2 separate regions of the Homo sapiens genome follow, and region 2 is linked to region 1. Evidence: promoter capture Hi-C in human tissues and cell types (Jung and others, 2019). All regions are on one chromosome and are shown on one strand. Each heading gives the region's core, a stretch centred on a gene start or on the middle of the fragment in contact. The rest is flanking DNA. Distances are from core to core; before and after follow the strand shown. Region 1 holds the start of NEFH (neurofilament heavy chain). Region 2 overlaps NF2 (NF2, moesin-ezrin-radixin like (MERLIN) tumor suppressor).

The links. Contacts are between HindIII fragments. The study calls those that stand out against the background at their distance.
Region 2: a fragment that was not itself captured here is called in contact with the fragment with the promoter of NEFH in region 1 in 2 of the 25 tissues and cell types used here (dorsolateral prefrontal cortex and liver).

What each region holds. Positions count from the first base shown.
Region 1 is chr22:29,478,366-29,482,261 of GRCh38, reverse strand. It overlaps NEFH (neurofilament heavy chain), which reads right to left and starts at 2,044. Exons shown (of 4, transcript NM_021076.4): 1 at 1,117-2,044. The coding sequence starts at 1,999. RefSeq lists enhancers at 168-1,022, 3,583-3,896. The HindIII fragment of the contact is 10,845 bases long and covers 1-3,896 here.
Region 2 is chr22:29,633,168-29,637,231 of GRCh38, reverse strand. It overlaps NF2 (NF2, moesin-ezrin-radixin like (MERLIN) tumor suppressor), which reads right to left. Exons shown (of 16, transcript NM_000268.4): 2 at 356-481. Among named protein-coding and RNA genes, the nearest start is that of NF2, 32 kb to the right of the region's middle. The HindIII fragment of the contact is 3,442 bases long and covers 1-2,971 here.

The sequences.
Region 1 (3,896 bases), core at 795-3,294:
CCCAAAAGAGGTTTGCGCAGGGAGGGGCCTTGCTGCGGAGATGGAGGAGGGGATGGTTCTGCTCTGCAGAGGAGTGGAAAAGGAACAGAAAAAGCTATGCATCAAAATCCCAGCTTTCCCTGCTAGTGCTGGCAAAGACTTAGAAACCATCCAGGTGGTTGGAGATTCTCAACTATTGTCGATCACAGATGCTTTTGGAAAATCACTGAAGCCTCTGCCCTCTCTCTCAAAAACAACGCAAAGTTTTACAGACAGTTTCGTGAGACATCATGGAACTCCCCGGATTAAGCAGCCCAGTTGATCTACCCTCCTCTTTCAACTCAAAAAGAAATGAAAACCAGAGAGGGCAAGTGTTGGTCAAGGTCACCCTGCAGCTGCTGGGCACAGCCTCAGGGCAGCGCAATCTAGCTGACTCAGGGCTGCAAGGAGTTGGGGGAGGGGCAGACTTGGGAGGCTCCCAGCTTCCCTAAAGGAGAAAGGGGACATTAAAACATGAAAGGGCCCACCAGCCACCTCCGCCACAGGCAACAACTGACTGTAGTAATGGTTCCCTCTAGGAAGAAAGGATGCGAAAAGGTCCTGACCCACCCCCACGTGGAAGATTTAAGGTAGGAACGTTAAGCACTGAGCAGGTAGTGGGAAGGAGCCTGGTAGGGGTGAGAGGAATAGAGTTTCTTGCGGGGTGTAGGAGAGGGCATGGCAGCATTGGCGGGGAAGCCTTGCTACTTAGAAGGGCTAAGAGTCTCCAGCGCTTGCAGACCAGAATCCTGCACCACTTTTTTCCTGTAGAGGAAACTTGTTTTTTTCTTGACGGGGGAGGGATCTCAGAGTGGGGTCGCCTAAGCTTGGGGTAGAGAGCAGCAGGGGGCCCAGAGTTGAAGTACAGCCGTAAAGAACCTGGAAAGGGGGAACCGAAGGACAACCCAGAGTTGGGGCGTCCCACAAGAGACCCAGAGTAAAACTGCGATTTAACTAGGGGCATGCACTTTGCAGAGGGAAGGTGAGCAGCGCGCCACTCCACGCGCAGTCCGGCAGCGCCCCCTTGGGTCACGCAGCCCAAAAGTTCGCTGCGGGGTCAGCAGGGGCGCCCCTCCCCCCACCCGCGCGCCTGCGTACCTCGGAACCACTCCTCGGACTGCAGCGTGCTCTGCACCGCGTGGCCTTCAAGCTGCGCGCGAATCTCGCGCAGCGCCGACGTCACGTCGCACTTCAGGGCGTCGCGCGTCTCGGCCTGCATCTGCGCCTGCGCGGCGCCGGAGCCCTGGATCTGGCCGAGCAGCTCGCCCACCTCTTCCTGGTGGTGGCGCCGCAGGTAGCCGCACTCCTCCTGCAGCGCCTGCGCCTTCTTCTGCAGGTCCACGCGCGCCGCCTCGGCCTCCTGCGCGAAGCGCGCCAGCGCGCGGGCCGCCGCCTCGGCCTCCTCTCGCTGCCGGGCCTCGTCGTCTAGGCGCTGGCGCACGTGCGCGATGTCCTCGAGCAGGTGCTCCTGCTCCAGGCGTAGCTGACCGCGCGCCGCGCCCAGGCGCAGCACCGCGCCGCGCATCTCGCGGACCTCGCGCTCGTACAGCTCGCCCATAGCGGAGCGGCCCGCCTGCTGCTGCCGCAGCGCCGCAGCCTCGCCCTCCAGGCTGCGGTTGTGCGCCTCCAGCTGCCGCACCTTGTCGATGTACCCGGCGAAGCGGTCGTTCAGCGCCTGCAGCTGCTCCTTCTCACTGCGTGAGGTGGCCACCGCCACCATGCAGCCCTCCGGCCCGTTGCTCAGCGTGTCCAGCGAGTCGGTGCTTGAGGCGGCGCCTGCGCCACGGAAGCGGCTGGGCGAGGCGGACACGGAGCTCACGGACGTCCGTGTCCACGAGTGGAAGCCGCTGGAGGAGCCAGCGGCGGAGCGCGTCCCGCCTGCGCCACCCTTTCGGGCTAGCGCGTAGTGGAGGCTGCCGCCGCCATGCAGCGGCGCGAACGGGGCGCCCAGCAGCGCGTCCGCGCCGCCGAAGCTCATCATGGCCTGAGCAGGTGCGCGAGGCCGGGACGGGGCGGGAGGCACTGCGGCAGCACCAGGGCGCCGGCCCTTTTATAGCCGCCGCGGCCGGGTCCAACCCCTTGGCAGTGAGAGGGTGGGGAGGAGGGCCCCGCCCTCTCCGCCTCCTCCCCTGCGGCCCCCCGGCCGACCGGCTCCGCCGCAGTGAGAGGGGCGGGGCAGGGGACCGAGGAGGGAAGGGGAATCGACGCTGCGTCAGAGGAGACCCTCGAGGTCGGGGAAGCGGGCAGAGGACTCCCGGAGTGGGCCAGTGAGGACCCCCGGGTGCGCGTCGGAAGAGCCTGCGAGTGTGTTCGGAATAAGAAAGGGGACTTGAAACAGGGAGAGGACAAGGAGAAACCTGATGGGAATAGGGGCAGGATGCCCTCGGGATGGAGCAATGGAAGATTGCAGTCATTAGGATGAGGGGATCCCTGTATGAGACAGGACACGAGGCTTTCCAAATAGTTAAGAGAGGCTTTCAGGATAGGGGGTGCAGAGACTGTGCAGCCAGCCCCGGAACAGAGGAGGGAGCAAGGCAGTCCTGAATGGGAGCATGGACGCTCCATAGAACGGAGACAGGAGACCCCTGACCGGGGGAGGTACAGTGTTCTCCTAACATCTAGAGGACCCACTTGGAGAGCGCTCAGGAAACTCCGCGGCCAGCCCCGGAATAGATGAAGGGGGACCTGGAGTTGGGGAGAATAGCAAGGCTACCCTGAATGGGGGTATGGGAGACACTGCAGAGGATGGAGAGAGGGAACCCCGGATGGGTGGGGTTGGGGGGAGGCAAGGCGTTCTCTAAAAAGTCTGCAGTGGCCCCCGAGAGAGGAGATGGGAGACCCTGCTGCCAGCCCCAGTAAAGGGGACGGACCCTCAGCGAAGCGGGCAGAAGGTCCCCTGAACAGGCAGGAGAAAGCTGGGCTGAGTTTGAGGGGCAGAGAACCTACAGTGGGGGTACCGTAGGAGGGCTTGGGCATGAAGTTGAGAGAGCTGGCCCCTGTGTGGGGTGGGGGGAAATGATGGGTGTCACCCGAGCCAGCTTCTGCACACTGGGGTCAGCTAGGCAGTTTGCTGGTCGAATGACCTTGGACAAGCTGTGTCCTCCCACCCTTGTTTTTCCATCTGTACAACGAAGGGGTCTTGCCCCAGAGACAAGCTCCAACTCCTGACCCCCGACTGCCCCAGGAAGTTCCACTTTGAGGGGTCTCTGGCTGAACTGGGGATGGGGAACCCACATCTTGCCGTTCTGTCAACACTAGGAAGTCCTCTTTTCTCCCTCCCCCTCCCCATCTTCTCAGCCTCAACTTGTCCTCTCTTCCCCCACTCCTGTAACAGACAAGCAGGCGCCTGAGTCGGCATCCCTTCTCTCTTACAGGGAAGTGATGAGATGCTTTCTGAGTACCAAAGTCCCTCACCCCAATAGGATGTCAGGTAGAAGAAGGGGTCCCCAGGATTTAGGGGGCCCTGCAACGGCTGTGACATTTGGCTCTTTATTGGTTTTGGCTCATGTTTTATGCTGTGGGAGTGGGGGTGGTGCTGCGGCTGGCGCTTCAGCACCGGGGACAGGGCCTGCTCTTTGTTGGGCGTGGGGCGGGGAAAGAGATTAACCCTCTGCTTTTACTTTAGGGGAAGGAAGGGAGGGACACTGTGCTGAGGGGACCCGAGAGGGGAGGCAAGTGATCCAGCAGGGTCACATAGTGAGCCAGGGACCCCTCCCTGGACTTCCTGTCGGGGGTCCAGTTCCGTGTTTTCTGGGCTGTTCCCCTCCTGCTTAGGGACCCCTGCGAAAGGACCCCTGGGGATGCTGGGAGCCCTGAGACGCCCTTGAGAGTTTGTAGACTCGTACTTCCACTCTGAACCTCCCCCAGGCAGTTATCTC
Region 2 (4,064 bases), core at 1-2,500, 160 kb before region 1:
GACACAAATTGGTTATTTTTAAGTATATGAAGATAACAGTAATTTTTATTCATGAAGTTTTTATTCATAAACTGAAAGGCATAAAGCCAGAAGCAATCAGGCTGGTAACAATGGGTAAAGAAGCCAGGGCCAGCAGCAGTCTAATCCTGGTAACTTCTGCTTGCCCAGGAGAGCCTGTGAGGAGAAGGAAACTGGTAGCATCTCTACGTCCTGCTTTCTGCATGACTTAATTCAGGAATGTGCCCCCTTCTCTACTATACAGCTACAGCGCCCCAGTGATGAGCTAGGCGCCTGCTCAGGGAAAAACTGGAAAGCTCACGTCAGCCCCACCAGTTTCATCGAGTTCTAGCCCAACCTTCTTGTCCATTTTGAGCCAGGCCACTGTGTCCTTGATTGTGTACTGCAGTCCAAAGAACCAGGTTTCTCGGAGCCCCAGAGTCCGGCACACCAAATCAAAGAGGTCCTTCCCTTTCCACTTCATCTGCAATAACAAACCAATGGGGAAGGACACTGTGAGCAAAAATCATTAATAAAACCTTTTCTCTGCACTCTCCACTCTCAGGTTCCAAAACGTGGGGATGACACTAAGACAGCTGATGAGGACTGAATTCCTAAATAATTTTAAAGCTTCCTTTACAAACCCATGAGTGGGAAAATACCAATTAGAGCTTAATGGCTTAATCACTGCAAAGCATACACAATACATCCCTTGGACAGTTCCTTACGGATTTTAACATCTCCAAAGCTGCTAATTTAGGAAAGCTGGTAAATAAGCATCCTCATTTAGGAGAGTCTAGCCTCTTAAGTTAACTCGGGGAGATGGCTAGCTTCTAGGGACATTCATTCCCTTGAAATTTTGTTGTTGATTTTTTTTTTAAATCATTACTTTGCCCTTTGATAAAAGGCTAGTATTCCTTTAAATAAGACTGGTTTTACTACAAGTTTTTTTTTAATATAAAGAAATCATAATCAAAGTCATAAATCATGGAGAAAAAGAACCATGAGAGACCAGACAGTCCAATCACAGGTCTGTCCTGTCAAGGATGCCTAACTGAGGCCAAAGGGGAAGCTACTCACCCAGTCACCCAGAGCAAATTCAAACTCCTGGTATCTAAACCCAGGTGACGAATAGATATCAATATACTGTAGTGTGTTTATCCTATAGCCTCACTTTCAAAAGAACCTGAAGCAATGGCAATCTCTTTTCTCAGCTATTCCATCTGCTATGTGGAAAAGCAAGTTCAATGTCTTAAGGGAAGAGAATGGCTGGCAACTTAGTAAATGTTGCCACCTAGTGGCTTTCAAGTTAAACCACCAGGATGTTCCCATACAACCCCTTAGTTGCTGCTTGCCCCCTCCTTGCCCCAACCACCCCTAAATATCAGATGGACATTCAAATACAAACTCGAGTGCATTAGGATCATATGAGATGCATCATAGAAATGGTGGTCATGAAAGAGTAATCTTTCGACAGACATGGGAAAAATGAGACCACTCAATTGCAGAAGCATCCGTCCCTTCCTGCCCTCATTAGAAATCTCCACTCAAAGTCTTGGCACACTGAAGATGTATATAATGAAAAGGAATGAAAAAAATTCTTAGGCAGCCGGGCGTGGTGGTTCACACCTGTAATCCCAGCACTTTGGGAGGCTGAGGCAGGCGAATCATGAGGTCAGGAGATCGAGACCATCCTGGCCAACATGGTGAAACCCTGTCTCTAGTAAAATACTAAAAAATTAGCCAGGTGTGGTAGCGCATGCCTGTAGTCCCAGCTACTCGGGAGGCTGAGGCAGGGGAATCACTCGAAACCGGGAGGCGGAGGTTGCAGTGAGCCGAGATCATGCCACTGCACTCCAGCCTGGCGACAAAGCAAGACTCCATCTCAAACAAACAAACAAAAAATCTTAGGGTTTAGAGACTTGCTATAAAACCAAGAAGGGAAAAATAAGTTAGACCTCTGATACCTGATTGGTTTTTGCTAAAACCTGATTCTACAGGGGAGTTTTCAAGTAGGCTTTTCATTTTTAACACATATGAATGAACAGTGGGTTCTCTACAAGGTACTCAACAGGAAAGCCCATCCCTTCTCTGTGTTTGCAGTCAAAGTCAAGCAAAGCAGCAACCTAGATGGAAGAATATCAGGACCACAGCAGACAAGTAGCTGAGATGCATACTGGCTTTTATCTTTTAGCAGGGCCGTTTCTCCTATCTGTCCTTCAACTTCTGCCCTGTCTCCTCTCTGACTATAGTGGGGCCACTGGAACACTATAAAGATTGAGGTCTTTAGGGATTATTTTGAGAAGAATAAAAGAAAATGATGAGTTTTATTTTTAACAGATGATCTCCTTCCTCGTTTTTAAGGCTGAGTAATGGGCACATCCATTTCCCAGTCTGACAATAGGACAAAAAGCTTTTTAATTCACCAAAAGTTTTAATTCCTACAGGCAGACTTCACTGAAGAAATGTTATTTTGGAAAACTAGAAGTTTCAGGATGCTGATTATCCTCTTGTCTCTATTTTAAGGCAGCTCTAGTATATAAATTATAAATGACTACCTTGCTACAAGATAATGTAACATTAAAGAACAGGCATTAACTTGGAAAAGGTAAACACCCAAGGGTTGAGAAGATCAAGGTAACGATTCCCAATCTGCCATAACTCATGGTCATGGCTGGGCTGGGCTTTGGCAAGAAGGGGCTGTCTGTAAGTGGGGTGTGCAGTGCAGAGAAACAAAAGCTGCCAAGGGAATGATGAGTGAATTTCCTGACATGGGAGTTTAAATTCTCCAGCATAAAATTGTATTAATGCAGTTTTCCTGTATTCCCTTCTACTTTGTTTTTAAAATGCAAAACTGTCTTTGTTGAATGCAAAAAGACAATGTATTTGTCCCCTTGGCACTTGCAATACAGTGAGAAGTGCATCAACTCTGACACCAATTCAGAATGCCCTACTTAGATTTTTAACTTTGACACAAAGGATCGTAGACTGTCAAGAGTTGGAAATGAGCATGAGTAATTACCTAATGTAGACTCATACCCTTTTTGTGCAAATAAGGAAACTGAGTCACAGGATTCTTTGCCAGCTGCCAAAGCATACACTGGCCTTTTTCACGGTGATCTAACATAGGCAAACCGCAGACCCTAGAGTGCCTCTTTTCCTGTTCTGTGGGGTCCCTTTGTTCTTGCTGTCCAGCACTCCCCAGACACCTTTTCCAGTAAGTAACCAGTGTTTGAAACAAAATCCATTCTCAGAAGAGTCAGATATTGCTCGTTTACAGCTCAATGTGAATTAAGCCTCTGTTACCTCCCACTTATTCTTTCAACAAGGATTATAGAGCACACCCTACATGCCAACCAATGTTAGACACTGATGCTACAAAATGGTGGAAGCAGTGTTCTGCAGGAGAAACAGGCAAGACCTAGGTCAGAGAAGGCTTTAAAGAGCAAGTGAGAGTTAGATGCAGGAGAGAAGGAAATAAGTCTTTTTTTAAAAGTCATGCTTTCTACAGGAAACTGCAAGTCATCTTGTAAAGCTTAAACAGACAGGAGGTGGCATGGCGGGAATGGGGCTCCATTTGGGACCAGGTGGCTCAACTTCAGCCAAAAGCTGCAAAGTCTTTGAAGACCCTTGAGCAGACGAGTCATAGGCTCCAATCTGCAATCTGGATGGGCTCTGACAACAGGGTGGAGTATGAGTTGAACAAAAGAAGCCCTGGATCAAGAAGGCCAGAAAGTAGGCCAACCCCTGACATAAGGAAGGCAGTAGAAGGGAGAGAAGGCAGCCTGAGAAACGGAAAAGAGGCAGAGTCACAGAACAGGTGCCTGAACAGGACCAGAGGAGACAGAATTAAGAGGGACACCTGTGTGTCTGGCTTGAGTACCAGGTGGTTCCACTAAAGGAGAGATGGAATCAAGGAGAAGCAGCAAATCTGGCAGGGATAGACCAGCAATTAAGTTTTAGACAAGATGAGTGAAGGTGCCTGAGGAAACCAAGTAAAGACGTTCAAACATATTTGATTTAAAGCCCTAATTCCACTTATAAAATAAAATTTTGTCTTTAAGCAA